Linked DNA regions of Homo sapiens: region 2 is linked to region 1. The links are contacts of gene promoters, found by promoter capture Hi-C in human tissues and cell types (Jung and others, 2019). All regions are on one chromosome and are shown on one strand. Each heading gives the region's core, a stretch centred on a gene start or on the middle of the fragment in contact. The rest is flanking DNA. Distances are from core to core; before and after follow the strand shown. Region 1 holds the start of PCNP (PEST proteolytic signal containing nuclear protein). Region 2 overlaps LNP1 (leukemia NUP98 fusion partner 1).

The links. The method cuts DNA at HindIII sites, captures the fragments that hold promoters and counts their contacts. A contact is called where the count stands out against the background at its distance.
Region 2: a contact is called between a fragment that was not itself captured here and the fragment with the promoter of PCNP in region 1, in 1 of the 25 tissues and cell types used here (bladder).

What each region holds. Positions count from the first base shown.
Region 1 is chr3:101,568,824-101,576,004 of GRCh38, forward strand. It overlaps PCNP (PEST proteolytic signal containing nuclear protein), which reads left to right and starts at 5,357. Exons shown (of 5, transcript NM_020357.3): 1 at 5,357-5,456. The coding sequence starts at 5,393. RefSeq lists enhancers at 4,568-5,513, 4,957-5,226, 5,327-5,456, 5,537-5,696, 5,717-5,876. The HindIII fragment of the contact is 9,941 bases long and covers 2,587-7,181 here.
Region 2 is chr3:100,424,319-100,431,499 of GRCh38, forward strand. It overlaps LNP1 (leukemia NUP98 fusion partner 1), which reads left to right. Exons shown (of 4, transcript NM_001085451.2): 2 at 5,379-5,567. The coding sequence starts at 5,412. Among named protein-coding and RNA genes, the nearest start is that of LNP1, 26 kb to the left of the region's middle. The HindIII fragment of the contact is 4,668 bases long and covers 1,063-5,730 here.

The sequences.
Region 1 (7,181 bases), core at 4,107-6,606:
TCACCTGAGGTCGGAAGTTCGAGACTACCCTGACGAACATGGAGAAACACCATCTCTACTAAAAATACAAAAAAAATTAGCCGGGCATGGTGGTGCATGTCTGTAATCCCAGCTACTTGGGAGGCTGAGGCAGGAGAATCGCTTGAACCCTGGAGGTGGAGGTTGCGGTGAGCCGAGATCACACCATTGCACTCCAGCCTAGGCAATAAGAGCAAAACTCCTCAAAAAAAAAAAAAAAAAAAAGGAAATGGACAGGCGGAGCACGGTGGCTCAAAGGTCAGGAGTTTGAGACCAGCCTGGCCAACATGGTGAAACCCCAGCTCTACTAAAAATACAAAAATTAAAATTAGCCAGGTGTTGTGGCACAGGCCTGTAATCCCAGCTACTCAGGAGACTGAGACAGAAGAACTGCTTGAAGCCAGGAGGCGGGGGTTGCAGTGAGCCGAGACTGTGCCACTATACTCCAGCCTGAGTGACAGAGCAAGACTCCGTCTCAAAAAAAACAAAAACGAAAAGAAGGGACGGGACTAGGTGTGGTGGCTCATACCTGTACTCCCAGTACTTTGGGAGGCCAAGGCAGGTGGATCCCTTGAGTCCAGGAGTTTGAGACCAGCCTGGGCAACATTGTGAAACCCTGTCTCTACAAAACTTAGCCAGGGATGGTGGTGTTCACCTTTAGTCCCAGCTACTTGGCGGGCTAAGCCAGGAGGATCGTTTGAGCGTGTGATGTGGAGGTTGCAGTGAGCCAAGATCATGTCATTGCATTCCAGGTTGGGTAACAGAGCAAGACCCTGTCTCAAAAGATAAAAAAAAGAATGGACAGAGATATAGGAGACAGAGTATGAACAATCTTTTCAAAGTTTCTATATGAAGGAAAATAGGAATGAGGAGCTACAGGAAGATATGAGATCAAGAGAAGAGTCTTTTACTAAGATAGGAGACATAAAAGCATGTATGTATGATGTTGGGAATGTTTCAATAGTAGAAAGAAAAATCGGATGGAACAATAGTGATGTGTGTAAACAAGGACAGGCTCCACTTCATAAGTAACAGAACACATAGTATATAGGTATAAATGCAGGTACCACACCTCAGATATGGTTGAGAATATATAGAAGTTCTGTTTGATTACTATTATTTTCTCACTGAAAATAAAAAGCAAAATCATCCCAAGTGGGAGGACGTAATGGACATTTTTGGAGAGCCAACAAAACATGAAATAGTATAGGAAAGTGAGTGAATTAGGGCAGTGGTTCTCAAAGTGTGGTTCCCCAACGAGCAGCATCAGCATTACTTGGGAACTAGTTAGAAATGCAAATTTTAGGGCTCCAGCCATTGAGTCAACTGAATCAGAAACTGGCAATGGGGCCCAGCAATCTGTTTTAACATGTCCTTCAGGTGATTCTGATGTACACTGAAATTGAGAATAGTCTGAGGACATGTAATAGAATTATAAGGCTACATTAAGAACCTACTTAATGGCTCATGCCTGTAATCCGAGAATTTTGGGAGGCTAAGGCAGGAGGATCACTTCAGCCCAGGAGTTCAAGGCTGCAGTGAGCTATGAGCCACTGTACTCTAACCTGGGCAACAGAACGAGATCCTGTCTCAAAACAAAAACAAAAACAAAACAAAAAAAAGAACCTACTTAAGGTTAGTGAAATCAAGATTAGCCACTTTTCTTCTCCACTCTAATTTTTTTTTTTTTTTTTTTGGTAGCTCTTGGCCTGAATTTCAAGTTCAGCTCCACTTCTTACTTATCTTTTCCGTGCCCAAATTCCCTCTTCCATAAAAATGGGAGTAACAGTAGCACTTAATTCACAGGGTTGTAATGATTTAATGTACTGAATTTCATGTAGAATACCTGCAACAATGCTTGGTGTATAGTAAGCTTGAATAAATGTTAGATATTATAGTTGTCGCCTCACAAATTACACATCTAAATTAAAATAATAATTGCTCATATTACCTTCCATTTCCAGCCTTTTAAACCACTTAAATAGCTCACTAGAGGTTATAATCCATAGCTACTATGAAGCAAGCTCTCACCATGGCCAGGCAGCATATTATAGATTTAACCTTTATTATCCCAATGCCCTCAGTAACCCTATATGTATTATTCCATTTGTATAGTTATAACATATTCCATAACATTGTTATCCAGTACAAACTCACAGAATTAGCAAAATGCAGAATTAGAATTTAAGTCGAGTTTTTGTGTGGTGCAAAACTAATGCTCTTTGCCTTGGACTACATTGCCTATTCATTGTCAGAAAACGGTACCCCAAAATTTGGTGCTTTGACATGCTGAACTAGAGAAGCAGCCGCAAGGTTTCTCTGATCTCCCCACCCCACCTCCTGCCTCTCAATCCTCTGCCTCCCCCAAAACACGGGATAAGACTGTTCTTTGAAGTTTCTTATCTACCTAGAAACCACACACATCAAAGAACACAATTGCTTTCTATCTGCTTCCTCCCTGAAATTTCATTAACCAGAAGAAATTAAAACATATCACAAAGCCAGATACAGTGGTGCACACATGTAGTCCCAGCTACCTGTGAGTCTCAGATGGGAGGATTCTTGAGGCCAGGAGTTTGAGGCTGTAGTGTGCTATCATCATGCCTGTGAATAGCCACCACACTCCAGCCTGGGCAACACAGTGCGACCTGGTCTCATAAAAAAACAAAACTCACATCATAGAGGAAGAGACTGAAAATTAACCACCACACTTAGAGCCCAAACTTTGCCTCAAACTACTGTTTTTTGTTTTTGAGACAGGGTCTCACTCTGTCACCCAGGTTGGAGTGCAGTGGCGAGATCTTGGCTCACTGCAACCTTGCCTCCGGGGCTCAAGTGATCCTTCTATCTCAGCCTCCCTAGTAGCTGGGATTATGGGAGTGAGTCACCACGACTGGCCTTCGAATTATTATTGGTTCTCTAGTTTCACTTGGTTTACAAAGAGAATAATTTACAAGTGAATTTCTGCATTAATCTCTCCTAAAATCATTTACTACTCCTCTAAAATTGCCTGTAGCCCCCCCACCTCTCTCTCCCCTATGAAAAGTATTAAACTTCAACCATCTGACCCTTTTTTTAGTTTTCTTATTTTGTTGTATCATTCCCATGCTTATGCACATTAATTTTCTCTTGTTAACCTGTCTTTTATTAACAAGCATGTTGTCATGACTCTTTTGATGGGGAGGAAAGTGATCACCCCCTTTCCACCCCTTCATACTACACTACCTTTCCATTTCCTAACCCGTTTGTAGGAGGTTACTGAAGCTTGCATTAATTTCTTCAATAGATATTTATCCAGACTAGTATAATCCAGGTGCTGGGGAAACAGTGGTGAACAAGACAGGCACACCTCATGAAACTCACAGAACTGAAAGGTGAATGGATTACTATCTTCATCCTTTTTTTGTTTCGTTTTTTTCCTTTCATACCTAGTCCTGCACATGCATCCTTAACTTCTGCAGTGTGGTATATGGGAACTGGATCCGCTCCTAAATAGGTATGTGACTTCTCTGAGCTTTATCTTCTTCACTTAAAAATTACAAGCATCGGCCGGGCACGGTGGCTCACGCCTGTAATCCCAGCACTTAGGGAGGCTAAGGTGGGCGGATCACAAAGTCAGGAGTTCGAGACCAGCCTGGCCAACATAGTGAAACCCCGTCTCTACTAAAAATACAAACATTAGCCGGGTGTGGTGGCACGCGCCTGTTGTCCCAGCTACTCGAGAGGCTGAGGCAGGAGAATCGCTTGAACCCAGGAGGCGGAGGTTGCAGTGAGCCAAGACCATGCCATTGCACTCCAGCCTGGGTGACAGAATGAGAGACTCCATTCCACCCCCCATAAAAAATTACAAGCATCTGTAAATACATAATCTCAAATAAAAATCTTCGTGTATATCTCCATTTTTAAAATGATAGAAACGAGAGTCTCAATGATTACCTTGAAAAGATCACAAGGAAAATGAAACAAACATGAATTAAGTACCTGTAAGATAGTTTGCTGGTTACTTTTACATATATGATAAATGATGGATCAGGGACTTCAACCTAGATCACAAAATCACCACCACACTGCCCTGCTTCTGTCATGGGAAACACACTTTGATAATTTCTTCATTCTTTCTCCACTCCCTGGACTTGAAGCCCGAGAAGTAATCCATCCGCAAATATTGAACACTTTTTATATTCATATATGAAACGCACAGTACACAGTTTTTAAAAACTGGTCTCTGTTGTCAAGGAACTTTTGAGCCATTCAGAGAGACAACACTTAAAACACACACACACACACACACACACACAAACTGAGGGAAGTATGAAGTGACCAAATAATGGTATACAAAGATGATCTCATTTGATCCCTATTACCACTCTTTGAGGAGGTACTATTATTATTGCTCTTTTATAGAGAAGAAAAGGTAGCTCTGTAGGCAGTAAGCAAGTCTCAAGGTTACTCAAGCAGGAAAGGGCAAAACAGATTCAAATCCAAGTTCTGACTCCTAAGACTTTCTCTAACTATATATGGTAAGACAAACCCAGAAACTCCAGTTCCCTAAGCAAGTAATAGACCCCATTTGGCTAGGAGGGCTGGATAAATACTGAGAAAGGGGGAAGATGAAGCCGAAAAGGTAGGCTAGGGCCTAATGTAACTCACGGACTTCAGAATGCAGACTGTAGGAATCCACTAAAGGTTTCTTATTAAGGCAGAAATTACTGCAGTCTTAACTTGACATAGTAGTTTCTCAACTTGGTAGAAGCAGACTATACAAAAAGTAACTTTACAGTTGGCTACGTGACTTAGACAAATTACTCTCTCTGACCTCAACTCTTACAGGTAATTGAGAGGAGAATTCTATATTTGGACAATCGCCGTGATTAAACGAGTGTATGAAAGGCGTCTGAAGCTAGGGGGCGCTAGATAAACACTGATTTCCCCTTTAGGGAAAAAGAATGCAGGCTTTTTGTTTACATAGAGTTGGCAGGCATGCGTTATCCAGCAAGGCCGGAACGGAAGACACTCTCAGCCTCAGCTGCAACCACATCTGGGTATGCAGAAACCTTCTAAGATCCCAGCGTTTCCAGGGAGATGCTCCATTTCCCCTCACTTCTCCGGACCTGTCGCTAGACCATGAAGACCTGACTGCCCTCTAATAAAGTGCCTAGCCAGCACTCTTAGACCGCCCAACCTTCCCAGCTCTTCCTTCCGAGGCGGCTACTCGATGACATCACATCCACTTCCGCTTCCGAAGGCGGCCTCTTTTCATTCCTCGGGACCGCTCTAGGCTGCCACCACGCCGGCTGGCCCCAAAAACTCGATGGTTGTTGGGCGGGGTCGTGACGTCCTTGGCGTGGCTGCAGGGGAGGCCGCGGCGGGGAAAATGGCGGACGGGAAGGCGGGAGACGAGAAGCCTGAAAAGTCGCAGCGAGCTGGAGCCGCCGGAGGTGAACACAACCCCAGCGTCGTGGGCAGCGTGGGATGCTCCGGGCCTTTCTTTGAGCTCCCAGGGTGGGGGGAGTGGGGTGGGGCGAGAATGGGCGGATCTGGACCTCACCCGGCCAGGTGTTGGGCCCAGACCTGCCTCGGGCACGCCCGATGCGGCCCTCTGGGCTCCGGGCCTACATCGCCTCCTTGCCTGGGGAGAGCCGGCCACTGTTCGTCACCTCCTGGCCCCAGCGGAGGCCCTGATTCCGAGGAGAAGGGAGATGGGCGCCAGAAAGGGAGACCGAACTCGGGGTGGGACCAGGAGCGGCGGTGCAGGAGCCGCTACCGCCACACCGGAGACGCACATCACACAAAACACACACACCGGAGACGCTCATGAGACATAACATACACACAGTGCGAGCCACCGAGTAGTTGCCGCGGGAACTGGCCGCAGGCTGAGTTTCTGACGGTGCCGGCCTCTCAGTTACACGCAGGAGTTAATTACGCTTGCTGCTCCCTTTTCACTGAGGAGGTGGACAACTCCGGCCTGCTCTCTTTCCTTTACTTCCAAGTTTAATATTGACCCTGTGACAGGATGGGCCGAGGTGATGGAGGGGAAGAGGAATGCCTTTGCCTGCCCTCTGGTTTAAGCTGCGGGGTCTAGGGCTAAGGTTTGGTTGCTTTTCTTTGAAGTATCTCCCTTAGGCTGTTGCCAGCTGACCGCTTGCCAGATACTTAGGCGACTAAATAGTCTAGCGTGACTCTTCCTGTATTTTGTTACGACGTTAAACTCAGGTTACAGCTATCCTTATTCTGTCCATTCCACTCCCTAAATTCGGGTCTTGTGCGTGAAGGAAAAGAAACGTAATCTCTCCAGCTCCCTCTTTGCACATAACAAGACAAGTGACTTAACACGTGCGAGCTGTTTAAAATGTTTTTAGAACATTTTAAACATTATTCTCTATTCTGACCACCTTAGTTATCATTCCCGAAATTATTTAATATGAGAAAATAGAAACGATTAATAGCATATGAAGGCCACTAGTAGACCTACTAACATAATGTTTCATGTTAATTGCCTTGGGAACAAAAATTATTGAAAAGATTAAGTGTAATGTTAATTACTTTGGACCCAGGATTTCCTTTTTAAAAAACACGTACAATTCTGTTAGTTAAGCTGGAACTCCATCTCTCTCTTCCCTCCCCACCCCCTGTCTTTTTTTTTTTTTATAACTAGTAAAATACCTTATGAAAGAACAATTTAAATTTAAACCATCTACTACTTTCTCACTAGGGAATTTTTTTTCCCAAAAAAATTGTATTGGAAATTGTGGGATAAAATTACATAAAAGTTTAAAAGTAGTTTGAGGAAAAGCAAAAAATTTTAGACGTAGTTTGAGGAAAAGCCTAAAGAATCATGTGTTGATTTTAAGGCCATCTCGTTAACTGTCTTGACCGAGGGTAGCAGACGTGTTTAATGTGCTGTCAAAATGTACCTTGAGTGTCATTATAAATCCACTGTATAATTTACCTGCCATTCTTTCAGTTGAGGGTTATTAGTTCTATAGTATGAATATTGATGTTTCCATTTTAGCATGTGGGGAGAAGTAGTAGAGAATTACTTTGCTAATTGGTATCAGAAAAATTATTATGGTCTTTTTCTTGGTAACTTAGAGTAAGTAAATATCCCTTAACTTCTACATAATTTGTCTCCTTGCCGTTACAAGAAAGTAGTGCTGTTA
Region 2 (7,181 bases), core at 2,147-4,646, 1.1 Mb before region 1:
GTACTCATGGCTAAGATTTATTATAGTGCAAAGATACAAAGCAAAACAAGTAAAGATAAAAGTTGCATAGGGAAAGTCTGGAGGAAATCTGGGTCAAGCTTCCAAGAGTCCTCTCCCAGTGGAGTTACAAAGTACACACCTAATTCCTCCAGCAATGCTTTGTGGCCATTGTGCAAGGCAAGTGTTTATTATGGAGGCTCAATAGAGACTCAGTACCCCAGATAATGACTGGGTGCTGGTCAGGTAGGCACACTCTGCCTACCACATACACAAACTCCAGATTTGCAGAAGAAAGTCAGTTGTTCAGCATAAACCACATTAGTCGGGCAGTTTAGACCACTCTTATAATTTAAGGAAAATGTTATGTCACTGCAGGAACTGTTTACCAGCCAAGTTCCCAGAAGCCAGCTAAGGGCTAACCTTGCAAGCAGGTCCTTCTAAGGATGGGCAGTTTCAGGCCTGCTATATTAACCATTTTCTGTGTAGCTGATCTCCTTGGTCAAGGCATTTTATAGCAAAATTATTAACAGTAGTGTCCCACGACACAGTATGAAACTAACCTGAGTATTGACTTTACTTAAAATCCAGAGGTCTTGGATTTAGCCAATTAAAACAAATCCCATTAGCTATAAAGGTTAATCTTAGGAAGCCAGGTGGCTTTCTCCTTAAGGTTTTGTATTAACCTTTTTTAACCTAGCCCGAGGCATCAATTCGAGCACAGCACATCTCTGGGTAGTAAATTGAAGCTGACCTGCATGCCTTCTTGGGCTGAGGCAGGCCAAGATAGTCAAGATAGGTACACAGGAAGGACAATCCCAGAGAGCATTCTTAGAAACAAAGAATTCAAGTTCAGTTACCCCAATGAAAACATGCGTTAGTCAGGTAGCACAGGTTAGCAGAGCCCCCAGTGTGTCTTCCCACCGTGGGGAATTCAGCCTATGGTTTCCCTGTCCAGTCTAAATAATTCAGCTAAGTTCTTTGTTTTAGAAGGACTGCCTGAAGGCAGTTTGTTTCTTTCAGTTTTTCTCCTAAGTGTGGACAATATCTGGAGGTGTTCTTGGAAACTAGAGGAGCTGGGGCCAGTTGCTGCTATCTCATAGTCAGTGCTGTTGGGTGTGATCATAGGCTCAGCAGTCAGTTTGAATCAAGCCAGCATCCTGGAAAGGGATCACTGGTGTTCAGGAGCAGTTCTGAAAAACAGATCATTAATGCCCTCTTTCTCCTGCATCTCCCCAGGTGCCGGGTTTTTTTCTTCTTTGCTATTATGCAATAGTGTGATTCATTCAGAAATCATAACTTTACCTTTTCCCCAGCCATTGTTTATTCTTATCTAGACCATTTATAAGGAAGGGTAGAAAGGGTTGGGTGTAAGAGGGACAAAAGGATTTACATAGAAAATCATTGTTTCATGTAACAACCAGAAAAAACACATCATGTTCCAGAATGGGCTAGGACAAAATCCTGAATTTTCAAAATTTTCAGACTGTGTTTACATTACCCTATCCCTTTTGTCCTGATTATTTATTCAGGAAGCAGCCTAGAAAATATCAATTTCTGTCTAGGAACAGCTGCATTTATCAATCAAACTGCCTAACTAAGAAGAGAGGTGAGCAAAGAAGAGTCAGACTATCAATCCATCATTGCAAATTTCAAAATACTCTGGCAAGCTGAACACAAATTAATAGCAGTGAGCTATCCCATAAGGGGTCAAGAGCCCTATCTGTCAGGAGTGGATGGAGGGGTCCCACTCTCTGTGATGTGCTCTCCCCTAGCTTGCAGCTTTTGACAGGGTTCTTGGGATTCATCATTTCTGGTGCAACTAGTTCGGTTTCAAATGGTCCTATCAAAGAGCAAGCCCTTTCCCGTAGGCATCTGCAAGTGATCCATGTGATTCGGATAGCAGAGTTTATGGCCCCACAGAGGAGTGTTGTAAACAAACCTGCAATAGTCCCCGAGGCTGAATTATGTTCCTTGAGCCTACGCCTGTCTTCAGAGATTGGAACAATCCCTCACAGACAGTATCAAGCTTAGCATAAGCTCCAGGCAATTAGGATCTATGAATTCAGGATTCCAAACTAGCTAGCAACTTTTCCTCTATAGCAGCAGCAAAGCCAAGAAGATACAGGGCCAAACGGCTTTGTTCCAAGTCCAATTGACAAGAAATGTTTTCTAAGCCCTGTTTACACGGTCAGATTTAGAGTCCAATTGACCCACTCCAAAATATGCACGTTAGGCTGGAAAATCATTAGCCTCTAAGGGTCAGACAGACACCTGATTATATAAGAACTTATTAGCAAACTAAAAACTGCTTTTTAAAATTCAAAAGGTGTTTTTTCCAGTGGAGATGAGCTATGCTTCTATGTTGTCTACCTTTTCCCATAGGCTCCAACAGGCAAAAATTATAGCAAAAATAATCAGTTATGGAGATTTCAGTACTTAAATACTCAGAGTTTACATTGTAATTCATCTAGTAGCAACAAAAATCAAGAGGTGCATATTCTTCTAATACTTCTTATAGAGTAGCTTTCCCTAACTGGGGTAATCCCTCAAGCATTTATGAAAGTATAAGCATATAATATTTTACATCAGTTTTTATCATATATTCAGGTGCTATAGACACAGAATAGAAGCCATTTTAAAAAATCTCTCTTTTTTTCATTGCAGGTTTACTCAAACTCCTAGTAGTAAAGTGGTAAATTCAGCGTATATGATTCACATTATACCTGGTGAGAGATTCCCAGTTGGAATGCAAGGGGCTGCTGTATGAGGCGATGGGGTATTATTTCCCCCCTCCCCTTTCTTGCTGGTTTATCTAAAGCCTTGTTCTAGCTCTTGGAACTGACTTAACAAAAACGTTAAAAGTTTGCATTGCTTTCTCTTCCTTCCCACTTGGAGGAGAAAGCAATGCAAACTTTTAACATTTTTGGCCCATGCAAAATGTGTTTTGGGAATGTTTGGGCCCTTTCTCTTCTCATCTAGAGGAGAGAACAAAACCCAAAGGCATCAGCCAGGCTGCACTTTTTAATCCCTTCATTTTAGCTACCCGTGGCCAAAAGCAGCCAAGGAATCTAATGAACCAATTGTCCTGGGGTTGGATCTGTCATTTTGAATTCTGTAGGTAACTTTTACCTCTCACAACAGACATCATCTCAGCAGCTGATTCATACTATAGATGGCTAGGTAGCCACTGGGCATTGAAGGTTCACCATCATGTCTTCTTCATCCTTCCTTTTCCCAAACCCTGCTTTAGCCATAGTTCAGTGGTTTGGGTTGTTTTTTTAGCAAATCCCACTTCTGATAGTAGCTGTCATCCCCAGTTTGGGGATTTGCTAGAACTCAGCATATAGTTGTACTCATGGATAAGATTTATTATGTTGAAAGGATACAAGGTAAAACTGAGAAAGAAAATGGAAAAGGCATATGGGGTACAGTCTGGAGGAAATTAGGCACACTCTTCCAAAAAGTCTTGTTCCAGTGAAGTCCCACAGGATGTGCTTAATTCCTCCAGCAATGAGTTGTGATAACACAGGAAGTCTTGGCCATTTGCAAAAAATAAAAATGTTAGAAGATATGTTAAGCTTTGGCTACTTTTCCTTAGTAACATAAAAGTTGTGATGCCATGCTCTGTAAACATTGGTCATAGTTATCAAGCTTATCTTTTTGCAGCTCAAGGAAGGATTTTCGTAGGGCAAATGGCCAAGAATTCCTGATTGAAAATGCGAGACTTCTCCAAGTTCTCTTGAAATACTGGCAGGATGGTGGAAAGAGCCTGGACTTTGTTTTTCTATTCCCCGCTTCAAACTTGATTTTGCCGCTTAGTATTAATTTCACTTTGGCAAGGGGTGATCTATTTGCATCTCAACTTCCTTATCAGTAAAATGTCATACAAATCTCCCAGTCACAGGGTTGTTATAAGAAAATTAGCATATATGGGATCTGGCGTGGTGGCTCACGCGTGTAATCCCAGCACTTTGGGAGGCTGAGACAGGCAGATCACGAGGTCAAGAGTTTGAGACAAGCCTGGCCAACATGGTGAAACCCCATCTCTACTTAAAATACAAAAATTAGCTGGGCTTGGTGGTGGGTGCCCGTAATCCCAGCTACTTGGGAGCCTGAGGCAGGAGAATCATTTGAACCTGGGAAGTGGGGGTTGCAGTGAGCTGAGATCATGCCATTGTACTCCAGCCTGGGCAACAGGACGAGACTCCATCTCAAAAAAAAAAAAAGAAAAAAAGAAAATTAGCGTATATGGAATACTTGGCTCCATACTTGATGCAAAGTAGGAGTTCCATAAATGTAATATTCTCTTTACTTTGAAAAAAATGCCCACTAAAAGACAGGGACTATAAAATTTATATAAACTTTATAAAAGCCCCAACTAGAAGTAACCTAAATGACAGCCTAAAATGACCATCACTAGTAGACTGAATTTTTAAAAAATTGTGACATGTTGATGCAATGCAATACTACACACAGCGTCAACTATTGTTACTGCAAAAACATGGATATATCTCACTGACATCATGTTGAATAACACAGGATAATGCATACTGTATAATGCCATTGAAAGTAAGTTCAAAAACAAGCAAATTAATCTATGGTGACACAGATCATTAATGGTAAACTTTTGAAGGGAGTATGGATTGGAAGGGGGATACATGGAGCCAGTTGGGGTGCTGGCAATGTTTTATGTCTTTACCTGCATGGTGGTGGTAACACAGGGGTATATGTATATAAAAATTCATCAAGCTGTGCACTTATGATTTGTACATTTTACACGTACTTGTATATTATTTACATGTGTACATATATAAGTAATACCTCAATTTAAAAAACTACTCCTTTTGATCTAGGAGCTGGATTTTATATCAATATCATTTTATTAGGAGAGTATCTAGCTCCAGATATGACATGGCAACAGCTGGCTACCTTGCAAGCTGTGGTCAGTCTGTTCCTTGTATGTGGCCCCATTTCAGAGCTTGCCTGGAGCTGACAGGCATATTGTGAGGGTCATGCTCCATCATCATTGACAGCTGGAGATGCCATCACATGTCATTGGCAGCAAAGCACAGGGAAAACCAGGCAGTGGACTCTGCATCCCACCCTTAGGCTGTGAGGCACAAGCCCCAGCAATGGAAGGATTAGAAAGCCTCTCAATTTAAAAAGACAAGGGGAGGGGAATGTGGGCTGCACAATTTATAAATAGACATTGCCCAAGGCTGCCTGATGATGAAGTGGTTGTTTAGTAAATCTTTCTCCTTTAAGGATGCCAGTATCGGAGACCATTTTAAAAAGACCAGTTTCATTTTGTCTTTTGGGAGAGATCCTGGGTTTCATTGTCAGCCCTGTTGGGTGATATTTCCCTCTGTCGCATTTAGGGACAGGCCTTCAGTATTTGGCATCACCTTTACATGGAGCACAAAGATGATGATGATGATGATGTGTCTTTTGCCAAATGGATGAGCAGCTTCTGGGGCCACAGCTGGAGAGAGGAGGATCAGAGAGGACTCCGGGAACGCCACCGACTGCAAGCCACCAGTCACAGGAAAACCTCCCTGCCCTGCCCAGTGAGTGATTGTCATGGAACCGGAGGGGAGAGCTGGAATAGGGGAGGGGGTTTCTCTTAGATAATTTTTTGAGGAATCTTTGGATATAAAGTTTTCTTTGGTTTAAAACCAGTACTTCTGAGTCTTTCTCATACCCACAGAAATCTCTCTTATTATTTCATCTTGTCTTTCAAGGGACCTTATTGTCATCTAATGGGTAATGATTTCTTCATTTTTAGTTGTCTGAGATATCTTTAACTACTCTTCAGAGCTCCTGATAAGCCTGAGATAATCCCACTGAGTGACGGAATTTAAGCCAAAGGAAAGAAACTTGATGCTATACTTAGTCTGTGTAGCCTTGTGGCTCAATGTGTGATTTCCGTTTGAAATACTGAAAATTGTTCCACTCTTTGGTAGACCTTCTAAGGAACTGGGGATCCCACATGACAAGTCACTACCTTTGAGAAATTTGACATACTTGTTTTTCTTCCAGGGAGTCCATTTGGTTTCTAGATGGGAGAGGGAGCTAAAACTCTCCTGCCCTCAGCACTGTTTTGTTACAGCTAGGCAGAGCACCTGATATCTGAGGAACAAGATGCTAGCAGGAAAGCTCCCAAGAGGGGAATGGGTGGGCTTGGTCAGCTGTAGACTCAGTGACATGTACAGGCGGCTATTCTCTCTGCTCTACTGGCATGCTAGAAGGCTCCACAGTAGACATGTGTGTCCTGTGCTTCACAGTTACACAGCAATAATACAGCTTTTCTTTTTTATAAGTCCCATTAAATGTCAGCTACCAGAGGATAGTTTCTCAATCCCCTGCTGTTGCCAACCCCGGAACCAAGTAAGTTTTGTTTGGGGTAATATTATTTTATTTTTAACTTCAGGCTTCCCAGACACATAATGTCTATAAGACATATGAAAGTGTGTAAGGCAACCTCTATTACTCCTGGTGATCAGCAAGTTTGAGGAAAGAGAATTCTTTGAGACACAAATATTTCAAAATATATCCCTTGCCAAATGCATACTCAGGGACAAAGGGCAATCGTCAACCCTTCTTTCAGCTTCAGGTTGCTAAAGTGAAAAAGATGGGGGTGTTGGACTGAGTGATCTCTAAGAACCCTTCTACCTCTAACCTTCCATGTTCTGTTATAAAATAAACACCTGCTTATTGCCTCTCATTTTAATATATATTCCACAATGAGCAAAATATCCAGGCTGTGTGAACCAGGAGTATGATTAGTTTCCAGTTTCCAGATGTGAGAACAGGGATAAACAAAAACAAAAACTGTAATTTACTATTTATGACAATGGCCTCTTGAAGCCACAGGAAATATGAAAACATAGAAAGAAACATGGTTTACTAGTTCCTTGAATAAACTTTAGCATCTATGGAGCTTTTAAAACAGAGATAGTTACCCCATTTACAGAATTCACTTTTAGGTTACAATGGTGTTTGCCTTAATCTATGGAATCACAGCATCTATTATGTATAACATTTGTAAACTGTGTCCTTATGACATCTTTATCTGCTTATCCCTGCTTCGGGCATTTGCCTGAATTAACCTGTTTAGATTCTCTGAGTCAGCAATGAATTCCGTAATTATTAGACTAACATGCAGAATAAAAATTGCTGGA